Regions from separate parts of the Homo sapiens genome. Here region 2 is linked to region 1. The links are contacts of gene promoters, found by promoter capture Hi-C in human tissues and cell types (Jung and others, 2019). All regions are on one chromosome and are shown on one strand. Each heading gives the region's core, a stretch centred on a gene start or on the middle of the fragment in contact. The rest is flanking DNA. Distances are from core to core; before and after follow the strand shown.

Region 1 (6,747 bases), core at 4,248-6,747:
GCGCGATGGCTCACGACTGTAATCGCAACACTTTGGGTGGCTGAGGTGGGTGGATCACTTGAGGTCACGAGTTCGAGACCAACCTGGACAACATGGTGAAACACCGTCTCCACTAAAAATACAAAAAAAAATTAGCTGGGCATGGTGGCACATGCCTGTAGTCCCAGGTACTCAAGCGGCTGAGGCAGGAGAATCTCTTGAACCCGTGAGGCGGAGGTTGCAGTGAGCCAAGATTGCACCATTGCACTCCAGCCTGGGCAACAAGAGCAAAACTGCATCTCAAAAAAAAAAAAAAAAAAAGACGGAAGATTTGAGTCCAGGGAGTGAGGTCAGTAGTAGTAATGGCCCCCCTGCCCCATTCACAAGCCTCTGTCATTTCATTGGCTCCTCAGTAAGGAGACAGGGCAGGTGTCCATTTCACAGACGGAGAGAACTGAGGCCTAGAGAGGTTAAGCGACTTGGCCACTGACTGCCTGTCGGTGGTGAGTTCAGAGCTCTAGCCCAGTGAGTGCCCTCCATCTCAAAAAAAAAAAAAAAAAAGACAGTGTAGTTTTCCAACTTCCTGCAGTTTGTGCCCGAGGCATTCACTATCTCTGTTACATTGTCTTTCTCTCTATACAGTCATAATTTTCTCATTATTGTTATTTTGGTTCCAGATCCCTTTCTTCTGTCTCCTTGGCAATCTATCCTCAGACACGCAGATTCTTGGTGAGGGGTGGGGGTGGGGGTGGGGGGCTGAAAATAGGGATGGAGCCTGCCATGCTCTAAGGAGCACAGAGGCGAGAATTCTGGGACAAGAGTGTGAGCTGAGATGGTTTCCATTCAGCCCAAGGCAAGGAGGAGTGGAGAGCAACTCGGCGTTTGGCTGGGACCTGGCTCCCTGTGTTCACTGGAGTGTGGGGTGAGGGTCAGCTGATCAGGACAGAGGCCAAAGATGAGTGGACAGTTTGATCTCAGAACAGTGCTGCCACCTGACTCCTTTCTGACTTGACGGGAGGCCTAAAATTCAGATCAGACATGTTTTTGCAAAGGTACATGGGTGTGTGGTTCCTTGCACATGTGATTTCCAACATGATCTTCCTCAACTGGACTGGCTCCGGCTCCCCAGCCTGCAGCTAGGCTTGAAATTTCACCCCAACATGAGACTGTGTTTCTCACGATGGAGTGCGTATGACCCCAGGGCTGTGAGAAGCCATAAGATGGAAGAAACTGCATTTCAAATGAAAAAAGAAAAAAAAGCTTTACTCAAGATTAATGAGTTCATATTTGTACAGCAATTAAAACAAACAAATATGTTTTATTTGGAGATTTGGAAGGATTCGTGCATGCTTCGGGATTCTAATGTTGCAGTAAGCACAAATAGAACATGGAGAAGAATGTGAAACCTAGATGAATTTAACATTTTAAGTCTCCGGAGACACTTTTGAATTCCCCTGGGGTAGATCTGCTTCAGGCTCCACCTCAGACTCTGCCCATATTCACTCCTCTTCAAGAAGCATTGGCCGAATCAGTCACCAAAGTGTCTTATCTCATGTCCCTGGAAGAGATCAATTTCACCTAGGTCAGTTACAACCCAAAGTACATAAATTACTAAGCCTCCTGTGAGCAGGTTGTAGTCAGGGGTGGAGGGCTTAAATAATCCATAATTTCCTCAAGTGTTAACGTCTCCATTTTGTTTTATTTTATTTTATTTACTTTTTTTTAAATACAGAGTGTCACTCTGTCACCCAGGCTGGAGTGCAGTGGCACGATCTTGGCTCACGCAACTGCGACCTCCCAGGCTCAAGCTATCCTCCTGCCTCGGCCTCCCAAGTAGCTGGGGCTACAGGTATGCACCACCAGGCCCAGCTATTTTTTGTATTTTTAGTAGAGATAGGGTTGCACCTCATTGCCCAGGCCGGTCTCGAACTCCTGAGCTCAAGCGATCCACCCACCTCTGCTTCCCAAAGTGCTGGGATTACAGGCTTGAGTCACTGTGCCCGGCCTCCATTTTATCAAATTTTAAAACTGAACTGCAGTGAAGTTAAAATTCTTGCCCAAGGTCACATAGCTGGTAAAGTGACAGGAGCCAGATTTCCAGCTATAGTCAGTGCTGGTGATAGTTAAGGCAAGGCACTTTTGAGAAACAAAGTTGTTCCTAAGCCAAGATGGTAGGAGGAGGACAACAGGAAGGAATGCTCTGTTAACAGTGGTCATTTCTCAGGGGTTGCAGTAAGATGAACTTTCACATTCTACTTTATTTCTGTAATACTTGGGTTGTTCCAGCCAATATGTTTTCTTAACGGTGGTTGCCCAATGATGTTAAAAGGTTATTTTTTAGGCTCTAACCCCAAATAACTTCCCTTGGTCTGATTTCAACCTCACTCAGCTACCTTCTGACAATTTGATTTCCCATTAAGCTGGCTAGAGAGAGAGGCACTGGCCGGCTGGGTGAAGCGGCTCATGCCTGTAATCCTAGCATTTTGGGAGGCTGAGGCAGGTGAATCACCTGAGGTCAGGAGTTTGAGACCGATCTGGCCAACATAGTGAAAGCCCATCTCCACTAAAAATACAATATTAGCCGGGTGTGGTGGCACACGCCTGTAGTCCCAGCTACTCAGGAGGCTGAGACAAGAGAATCGCTTGAGCCCGGGAGGCAGAGGTCGCACTCCAGCCTGGGCAAGACAGAGCGAGACTCTATCTCAAAAAAAAGTGAGAGGGACACTGGCCAAGCCAACATCACTGTGTGGCCCACCTGATTTTCTATTCTTATTATAAATGAATGTGGCTCAACACATTTTTCTCCTCTCATCCCTAATCCATCCTAGGGTCTCACAAACAGAAAATAACATTATGCAATGCAAGTCCAAGCAGAGAAAACACAGAATCTCTTCTAGCATGGTAACACACAGGCATTCGGTCACTCTTGTCCGTGTACAAAGTCTGGTTGTCTCATCAATGCCTGACCCTTTGTCAGAGAGCAAGTAAAGGCTTCTTTTCTTCATCCATTGCTGTGTTACATAGAGGTCTTTCACTTGCAAGGGACAGAAGTTCAATTTGAACTGACTTAAGAATAAAAATCAGGGTAGATTTTATAGGTTAATATCCTTGAAAAAATCCAATGCTAGGTGTCCTGCTTCAGGTGTTCAAATAACATCATCAGGCCTTTGTCTGATTCTTTTCTCATTTTTCTTTTGTGCTGACCTTACTCTTGAGCAGGTTCTCTGCACACTGTGGTCCTGGCAGCCCCAGGGTTCCATCCTCTAACTTAGAAACCCAGCACAAAGAGAAACTTCTCAAGGGCTCCAACAGAAGTCTCAGAATTGAATCTCATTGGCTTGGCTTCGATTATATGCCTACGCTCAAACCAATGGCTGCAGCTAGCAGAGCAGAGCATGCTAACTGGCCTGTCCTGAATTGTATCAGGGCCCCACTTCCAGAGAGCTGGAGCCAGACATCACCCTCTCCGTGAGCACAGAATGACGGTGGGAAGCAGTGGTTGCCCAAAGTGAAAACAGAGAACTGTTACCCAAAAAAGGGGAAAGAATGCTAGGCATGGGGGAAAAAACATGCCTAGATCCAAGGCCACCTTCAGCTTGATCTGGGGGAAAACGTGATATAGATGTGTATCTATACCTTAGTATCTGAGACAGGTCTCAGTTAATTTAGAAAGTTTATTTTGCCAAGGTTGAGGACACATGTCCGTGACACAGCCTCAGGAGGTCCTGATGACATGTGCCCAAGGTGGACAGAGCACAGCTTGGTTTTATACGTTTTAGAGGGACATGAGACATCAATCAACATATGTAAAATGAACATTGGTTCCATCTGAAAAGGTGGAGCAACTTGAAGCAAAGGCAGGAAGACCTGAAGTGGGGAAGGGGCTTCCAGGTCACAGGTGGATAAGAATGGTTACATTCTTTTGAGTTTCTGATTAGCATCTCCAAAGGAGGCAATCAGATATGCATTTGTCTCAGTGAGCAGAGAGGTGACTTTGAATAGAATGGGAGGCAGGCTGGCCCTAAGCAGTTTCCAGCTTGACTTTCCCTTGTGGCTTAGTGATTTTGGGGCCCCACGATTTATTTTCCTTTCACAGAGGTAACTGATGGTCTAGCTACAGGTTGAGAAGAAATGGGATGGGATGGTGAGAGTATTGGATTTCAGAGATAGAGGGCCCAGGGGGAGTGGGGAGGTGGGAGTTACCGATCCCACAAGGGAGGGAGCCCCTTTGGGGCTGGTGACTCCAGGACACAGAGGGTGGCCTGCAGTGCCAGCTACTGGGGTAAGGGAAAGAGCTGAATCAGAGGCACAGGACTCTGTGTGGCCCTTGGCAGGTGACATGAGCACCAAAGGATCCTTCACACGGGCTTCTGAGTTCAGAGTGGCCTGAATGAAACATTTGTTTGAGGGAGTGCACATGCCACCCCGCCATTTGCCCTTGAGGGCAAAGTAAGGAAATCACGTTTTCCTAACTGCTGTGTTACTAATATCTGCCTGTCTCACATGAGTCCTCTTAGCCTACGCCACCCGGCTGGGGCCAGTTGTGTCCAAATGAACCAATGAAATTGATTCAACCAGACCTTGGACGCTGGTAGATTCCACAAGGTCCTGCTCCATGGAAGGCCCCTTGGCAGGCAGCCAGCAGCCTACCCTGACCACACCCTGCCCTTGTTTCCCAGCCTTCCCTACAAGGCTGTATCAGGGTTCCGGGAAATGGGGGCTGGGGACCCCGGGCACAGGGCTTGGCTTAGAGTAGGCCCAAATAAATGGCAGCTGTTCTTAGTACTACTGGATACGCAGCATGCCTAGCACAAAACAGGACACCTGTGATTAGGCATGTGAAGTGTGCAGCAGGGCACCGATGGGAAGTTCATACACCCGTAACTGTGAATACAACAGCTGTGGCTCTAAGGAAATGAATACAGTAGCAGGTGCCAAACACCTGTGCGCTGTATGTGGTTTTGTTTTTCTGCGTTGGGTTGGGCTTTGTCCTCCTTCCACTCACTTTTCTTACCTCTCCCCTCCTCTTTCCAAGGCCACCTGCCTGTAAATGTGCTCCAAGTGCAAACAAACTTTTTTCCACTCATCCTGACATCCAAAAGTTTGTGTCTGAGAAAGCAGTGTCCACCAATCCACCTATGTCCGACTCATAGGGCTGTCTGTTTATTGTGCAGATTTGTAGATGCCAGTGAGCCAAGATCGGGCCACTGCACTCCAACCTGAGAGAACGAGACTCCGTCTCAAAAAAAAAAAAAAAAGTTAAATAAAAAAAATTAATAAAAGGTTCAGGGACCTGGGAAGTGGGGGTGAGAGAGTTGGATTCTGCTGCCTCCTAAAGCTTGAGCCACAGTTCTGTGGGCACCCACCAGGTACCTGGCCCCAACAGGAAAGTCCTGATTCACTAGACCCTTGCCCACTTTGCCCTCCTATCAGGCAATTCAAAGTCTCCAGACCCGCAAGTTACTGATTAACCCTAGGTTTTGAGAAAATAAATAATAATAACTGAAGGGACGACGTAAGCCAAGAAACAAGCTGGGCAGCTCTGGGAGAGAGGAGTGTCAGACAGCTGTTGTCAACAGGCACCTGGCCAGAGTGAAAAGGAGGGGCAGATTCCATCCAAGTCCCAGCGGCGCCAGCTGACACTCTCTGCCAATGCCCAGGTGCTGAGCGACAGTGTCCCACCGGTCCCTGTGCCCAGAATGGCCTGCACCAAGACCCTGCAACAGTCCCAGCCCATCTCCGCAGGAGCCACCACAACCACCACCGCTGTGGCCCCTGCTGGGGGTCATTCTGGCTCCACAGAATGTGACCTGGAGTGTCTGGTGTGCCGGGAGCCCTACAGCTGTCCCCGGTTGCCCAAGCTGCTGGCCTGCCAGCATGCCTTCTGCGCCATCTGCCTGAAGCTCCTGCTGTGCGTGCAGGACAACACCTGGTCCATCACCTGCCCGCTGTGCCGCAAGGTCACCGCCGTCCCCGGGGGCCTCATCTGCAGCCTGCGCGACCATGAGGCGGTGGTGGGGCAGCTGGCCCAGCCATGCACAGAGGTATCGCTCTGTCCTCAGGGGCTGGTGGATCCTGCTGACTTGGCAGCAGGACACCCCAGCTTGGTGGGAGAGGATGGACAGGATGAAGTAAGTGCAAACCACGTGGCAGCCCGGCGCCTGGCCGCGCACCTACTCCTGCTGGCCTTGCTCATTATCCTCATCGGGCCCTTCATCTACCCGGGTGTCTTACGATGGGTGCTCACCTTCATCATCGCCCTGGCCCTGCTGATGTCCACCCTCTTCTGCTGTCTCCCCAGCACCCGGGGCAGCTGCTGGCCCTCCTCCAGGACTCTCTTCTGCAGAGAGCAGAAACACAGCCACATCTCTTCCATTGCCTGAGTGCCCTCTGATGAGGCTATCCCTGCAGCCCTTTCTGCCCTTGGGCCCCCGGACTTCCACAATGAACAGGGTAAGGGGTTACGGACTAAGACTGGCTCCTTTGGGAAATCACATGCCAGCGGGACTTGCAAGCCACAACCGAGATGGCCAGCCTGGGTCAAGAATTACACGCTTGGATGACAGGCTTGCACTTGCCCTTGGGATAGCATAGCTAAAACTGTTGGTGGCTAGGGGAGCAGACACAAACTACTTGAACATGACAAGATGGGGGAAGCTCCTGTTCCTCTTATTCCAATGTTCTTGGTTTTTCTTTATATAACTTGATGAAAGTATTGCAGTATTGATGCCATTGTAGAATAGAACTGGAATTCCATTCTTTTTGCAA
Region 2 (6,747 bases), core at 2,683-5,182, 73 kb before region 1:
GTAGTAGCAGTGAAAGAAAAACTGCTGAGGTAGAGTGATAACATGTAATGAACGGGTAAGAGAAGGGAGGAAGATAAGCATTAAGAATACTCAGGTTCTGACCTGGATACTTGTACAGTTGGGGGAAAGATGTTGCTGATTCTCTGAAGCCACAGTCTAAAAGAAAAGAATAATCCTAAAGATACAGCCAGATGCAAGGGTGACCAGGTCCTTAATAGTATAGTGAACCATTCATTTATTCACTTTATGAATGTCTACCAGATGCCGGGCACTGCCACACCGCAAAACAAAGACACACAGTCCCTGCCCTTGAGAATCTCACAGTACAACAAGGTAGGCAGCACACTGACATTAAAAACAGGTAACTATGACTCAAGACTCACCAATGTAACAAGCCAAGCCTTCAACTGACACACAAAGAGAATGTGCAGACTTCCAGGTTTCTTTTCATTTCTGCTCTGGCCGTCAAAGTGACTTCTTACTTCTGTGATGCTCAAATTCTTAAGCAGCTCCAAGCAACAGGCATGCATAGTGACATTTCAAGAAAACACCTTTCCACTGTTCATCTCAAGTGACTATCACATTGGCAACCGAAGATTTGAGTTCCCTATCCTGTAACACCCCAAAATCCACCATGTGATCTTCACTGACAGTGTTCAAAGTGGAGTTTCACATCACAAACTAAAAACCCGTTTCATCCAAAATGATGTTTTCATTGGATTAATGACACAATTCATTTCGTACAGCACTAAACTACAAAATTTGTCCCATATACAAACATTTAATTTGTAAACTGCTGACTATCCAGTAAACTATGCATATCTGCTAGCCAAAAAGTAATCCCAGGAAGAGGGACCATCTGAACTCAGTGATTGGTACAAACCACCCATTGGAAGTTTTGTTGCTCTGTGTCTGGTGCCTACTGAGTAAGTTCTTTCCTAGTAAGGAATGGGAAACACTTTGGGATCACTGATACCTTTTCTCCCAAATGTCCCCCTCCTGCTGCCCTCTCTCTTGCTAACGGTACAGCCAATTACCCATTCCCTAAGCAGAAACTTCAGAATCACTCTTGTCTCCTCCCTCTCCCCTCCTCACCTCCAATGTGTCCTGTCAATTATACTGCCAAAGTGTGGCTTGGTTTGGGCCTTACTCATTATCCTCAGTAGCTACCTTGATGGAGACCTCCTCTACTCTCATCTGGCCAGTGTGGAGACCTTCTAACTAGTCTCCTTTATCAGTCTCTCTCCCCATCCATTCTTGGCATGGCCTCCAGACTTAGCTCTCTAAAACAAAGGATCAATTCTCTTTCCTGATAACAGACAGAAAAGACTATAAGCCCTGTGATGAAAATGCCATTTGTAAGACATATCAGCAGCAAGCACAGTAGATCCTCAGTAAATATTTGTTGAAATTAAAGTTTACAAGTTCATATGCATTTTCTATAAGATCTATGCCTATTAAATAGGAACCAATTAAAATCACTAACTGACTTGCCTCAAAGAAAACAGATTGTGTTTGGGGTTTGGGTGAGAAATTAACATGATTTTATTGGTTTTTCTAATTTTAAAAGTAATACATGATCATCTAAAAGTCAGAAAAAGTCTATAAAAGATAATTTAAAATACCATAGTCCCATCATCCCCAGATGGCTAACGCTTACTAAGGGCTTATTTTAATTTTGTTATCTAATTTAATCTTCACCAAAAACCCTGTGAGATAGATGCTATTATTATCTCCCTTCTATAGAAGTTTAAAGAGAATGAGTAATTTCTGAAAAATAAGTGAAGCTAAGAATTAACAAACAAAATGTTAGTATCTTTCCAGACTTTTCCTACTGTGTCTGTATACCTTTTAAAAATAGGATCAACCTATACAAGCTATGTTATAGCCTGCTTTTCCCACCCCACAGAGTAAGAAGTCATGAATCGCTTTTCAGGTCAATTAATACCATCATGTTTATTAAGGGCATATACAGCTAAACCTACTGATCCCCAACTACCTAGCATACTGCCGATAACCAAGTAGGCAAACAAATATTTCTTGAATAAATGAATGTCGTGATTTATATAACCAAACCCTTGGCTGGGAGGGGGGAGGATGCCAGTGGACTTAATTACCCAATGCATTACTCCTGAAGGACACAATGTCCCACAGTGAACCTACCATGCTTCTCAAAAGGAATGTCATCTTCTACAAAGGGTTCAAAATCTTCCCGCTGCTTTATCATGTAGTCCACTGTCTCCTGTCTGTGCTTGAGATGATTTCGTGAGTGTCCCTCCAATTGATCACCAAGAGCTCTGAACAAGCAATTGCTGTCAAAACAACAACACGAGTCAAGACCTTTCAAAAATGAACTTAGTTCGTCTAAAACAATGATGCTTCATGCCAGATCATCCATGGAAATATTTTGTGCACACAGAGGTAAAGACTCAACTCTAATAGTCCAGGATTCTTCCAAGACCACGGGGGACAGCATGAGGGCATATTCAACCATATTACCTTCTTGAGAGGCAGCAAACAAGGATTCTATTCCCCATGTACCAGCTGGCTGACTCAGGAGAGTCATCAAACTTCCCTGGGCCTCAGCTGCTTCAACAAGTGGAGCCGGTGATACACTAACCACCTTACTACAAGGTCCAGACCTTATAGGCCATTCCATGCCTAAGGGCTATGATTTACAGATCCTCTTCCAAAATCATGTCCTATCTACAGCCTCTTTTCTAAAACAAGTTCCACTACAGCTACCCAGCTAAGTAATCATTCATTTAACAAATAGTACCCAAAAAATAGCAATTTGTCAAGCTGCCAATACTAACAACTGAACAATACTCTGTTTGAGTCCTAAGAACATAGTGGAGAAAGTCATGAGAAGGAAAGCACTTGGACAACAAACAGTTGTACTATGGAAAGACACTTCCTCCTTGCCTCCTCACTTAGCACCCAGGGAGCAACAATGCCATTGTTATTCCTGCCAAATGAAAACTTTAAACACCACATTTTGTTTCTCTAAAATTAAAATACTGGTAATAAACTGTAAGAGTTATCTTTACTTTCAAACCCCTCAAAGGCTTCTAAATTCCGAACTATCACAAACACAGAGGCTTAGATACACAGAGACTCAAACAAGACAAACACAATCTGGTATCCTTAAAACTACAGAAATAAACAATTCTGAAGCCAAACAGTTGTCCAGTTTTACACCCAACTGTTTACTCTTCCAAATGAAAAACTATGATACTGTAATTCCAAAGTATAAACTCATCACTTTCAGAAAGATTTCATGTCTAAATGTGTAGGAAAAAAGGGGGTTTTGTTTTTCAACTCAGAAAAGTGAATTTTCAACAGAAAGCTATAGAAAGGCTGGAATCTCTTCTAATGTATAAGAATATATACTTTTTTTTTTTTTGCAGGGGAGGGGAGAATTAAGACAGCTTCTATAAATTAAAAACCAAGAAGCTTTCCAACAATCTAAGACAAGATTCTAGAAGGAGTGGAATATAGAGTTCTGTAGGCTAGACTGAGGTGTCTTGCTAAAATCTGACAATGGCAGTCTTTTTTCAACCATGGAGAAAAGTAAGTTAATCGATAAAACAATTTAAATGTCAAGCTTTTCCCTCAAACTTTTCTTAATCAGCATCTGCCACCACTAGCCTATTCTTGAATTTAGTTTAAGAGATGTGATTTATCACAAATTTATGTAGTTATTTTACATTTAATGTACCAAAATTCATGGTATTCTACAGTTACATGTTTGCTAGGAACTTTTAATAACATGAGCAAATGTTCTCCAAAAAAGTAGGTGTAGAACTGTATATGCCACATGAACTCAACCAAGTTCATCTGTACACTATACACATACACAGACACAGAAACACACACAAACGTATGCCAAGAAAACACACAGAAACAACCACTTAAATAGTTCTTACAATGTGCCAGGGACTGTCCTAAACACTTTATATGTATTAAACATGTTGTGTCTCACAACTCTGAGATAGGTCCTATTACCATCCCTCAGGGGAAACCTGCCCAAGGTCACAAAACTAGTAAGTGGTAGGCCCAGGATCCAAGTCCAAATAACGTGGCTCTCGCTCGAATGTCAACACCAAAATGATAGCCATAGTTACCCCTAGGCAGCAGAATTAAAAATAATATTTAAGAGTTTTAATTGTTACATTTTTTAATATGCTTTTCATTACTTACCAAACTTTCTTTGAGCTCACCCAAAACAAGCCAAAATAGACAAATCACTTCCTTTTCTGACAGGATTACAAGGTAATGAACAAACACTCCAGTGACCTGGGTTTCCTTAGGTGAGCCCAATAAGAGCACTCAAGAAACTCATGAGAACAAAGCACCGCTGCCCAAAGGGCCTCTAGGAGATCTGGGCCACTTCCTGAGTTCACACTCTCACCATTACCTATAGCAGGGCTTCTCAATCTCCACATTATTGACATTCCAGGATCATTTTTTTGTTGTGGGAGGCTGTCCTGTGCACTGTAGGAAGTTTAGGAGAATACTTGGCCTCTGCCATTAGCTGTCAGTAGCACATCACTACCTCCCTCCCCATCAGTTGTGACAACCAAAGATGTCTCTAGACATTGCCAAATGTCCCCTGGAGGGCAAAATCATCCCTGCTTGAGAACCACTGTGTTATAGGGATATATGGCAGGTCTCGCATTTGAGTTCACAAAAACAACCAATTACATAAAGAGCACGCAAATGTTTTGAGTGCGCAATAATTTACTATTAGACAATATTGCAACACACGCACCAAAAAACCTAACGTGCTCTCTAGACTGCAGTAATAATAGTAAATGTGCAGAAAAAGGAAAAGGTTTTATTATTTGGGGTCAGACCAGATAGGGTACTGGGTACCATTCTAGTTACTGTATTTTAAGAGAGACGTATTCAGATAAATGATGTGGCTTTAATACAATATGAAGAACTACTAGTGATGTTTGGCCTAAAGAAGGCTCAGGGGGACGTGATCAATACCTCCAACTGTCATGTGAAATTAAAATTATACCTGTATAATAAAACGAAAACCTGGAAGCCACAGAGACATAGATTTTGGCAAATAAAAGGTAATTTCACCTTAGCTCTACGGAGGTAGACTATATAGACTCAGGATTCTGCCAATTTCTATAACTAGCAATTCACAGCAATTGTCTAGATGTGTGTTGTTTAATAGTGGTTGCTAACCGCATGTGACTACTGAGCATCTGATGTGGCTAATCCACAGTGAGGTGTGCTATCAGTGTAAAATACTAGATTCTGAAGCGGTCATATAAGAAAATATGAGAGATCATCAGCCGGGTGCGGTGGCTCATGCCTGTAATCCCAGCACTTTGGGAAGCCAAGGCAGGCGGATCACCTGAGGTCAGCAGTTTGAAACCAGCCTGACCAACACGGAGATACCCCGTCTCTACTAAAAATACAAAATTAGCCAGGTATGGTGGCGCATGCCTGTAATCCCAGCTACACAGGAGGCCGAGGCAGGAGAATCGCTTGAACCTGGGAGGCAGAGGTTCCAGTGAGCCAAGATCGTGCCATTGCACTCCAGCCTGGGCAACAACAACAAACTCTAATGTCTCCAAAAAAAAAAAAAAAAGAAAAAGAAAAAGAAAATATGAGAGATCAATAATTTTTATATTGAATTGTATGTCAAAATAGTATTTTAGATACAATAGCTTAAATAAAATATACTAAAATTAGTTTCACCTGTTTCTTTTTAATGTAGTTACTAGAAAAATTTTAAATCACATACGTGGTTCACATTCTATTTCCCCTGGACAGCGCTGATCTAGATCACTGATTCTCAAAGTGTGTTCCCGGACTAGGAGCATCAGCATCCCCTGGGCAGTTGTTAGAAATGAAAATGCTGGGGCCCACCCAGGCCTACTCAATCAGGCATTCTGGGGTTGGGGCCCAGCAACGTAGCCCTTCCAGGTGTTTTCACTAGCAGTCCAGGTGGTTATGTTGCATACTGAAGTTTGAGAAACACTAGTTGAGCATCTAGACTCTAAATCAGTCACTCTCAATTATGGATGCATATAAGAATCATCTGTAAATTTTTTTTTAAAAAACATCAATAACCAGGCCCCACTCTAAGATTCTGATGTAGTTGATCTAGGGGAGAGCCCAGGCCCTGAATTGTTTCAAAAGTTCCTCCCCAGATATTCTAGTATGGCACCCAACTGAAAACCACTGAGTGAGGCACAAAAGATGGCACTGCTGTTCAGGTGACACAGGCAATAATTAGACAAGATGATGTGTGAATGCCCTTCTACTACTGTGATCCTGCAATATTAAAAACAAAACTAAAAAATAAACTACTTGTTAGTAATAAGATAAACAGCTAAAATTAGTGATTCTTCAATGTTTCAATTTTAGAACACTGCTAATGAGTAATGTAACTCAGAACTACATTTAGTAAGACCCAACTAGATAAGTTCAGAGGGATGTTAATATTGTACTGCCTAATAAATAGAGTTATACATTCTTTTCACACTATAGCCAATCATGTTTTTAAGGAAAACATCAAGGTTAAACTATTTCTTTCTTGCTTTGAAAAATGAATCCAATTTATGTGGGTCCACCTTCCAGACAACACGTGAAATATGAAGCTGGTCCAGGAAGCATTACAAAACCCTCTAAGTAGCTCCCTGATTAATCTACACTAAGCTGACTCAACCCATGTAAAGGCTGTATTACAGGATATTGGTTAATTCATCCCTAAACCCC

Evidence for each region. Contacts are between HindIII fragments. The study calls those that stand out against the background at their distance.
Region 2: a fragment that was not itself captured here is called in contact with the fragment with the promoter of RNF186 in region 1 in 2 of the 25 tissues and cell types used here (mesenchymal stem cells and pancreas).

What each region holds. Positions count from the first base shown.
Region 1 is chr1:19,814,033-19,820,779 of GRCh38, reverse strand. It overlaps RNF186 (ring finger protein 186), which reads left to right and starts at 5,497. Exons shown (of 1, transcript NM_019062.2): 1 at 5,497-6,747. The coding sequence starts at 5,679. The coding sequence ends at 6,362. It overlaps RNF186-AS1 (RNF186 antisense RNA 1), which reads right to left and starts at 6,371. Exons shown (of 2, transcript NR_186008.1): 1 at 6,227-6,371; 2 at 1,278-1,537. RefSeq lists an enhancer at 3,505-4,036. The HindIII fragment of the contact is 3,016 bases long and covers 3,279-6,294 here.
Region 2 is chr1:19,885,950-19,892,696 of GRCh38, reverse strand. It overlaps OTUD3 (OTU deubiquitinase 3), which reads right to left. Exons shown (of 8, transcript NM_015207.2): 2 at 2,164-2,312. It overlaps LOC105376823 (a long non-coding RNA gene), which reads left to right and starts at 3,533. Exons shown (of 3, transcript XR_947028.3): 1 at 3,533-3,573. The HindIII fragment of the contact is 5,133 bases long and covers 1,366-6,498 here.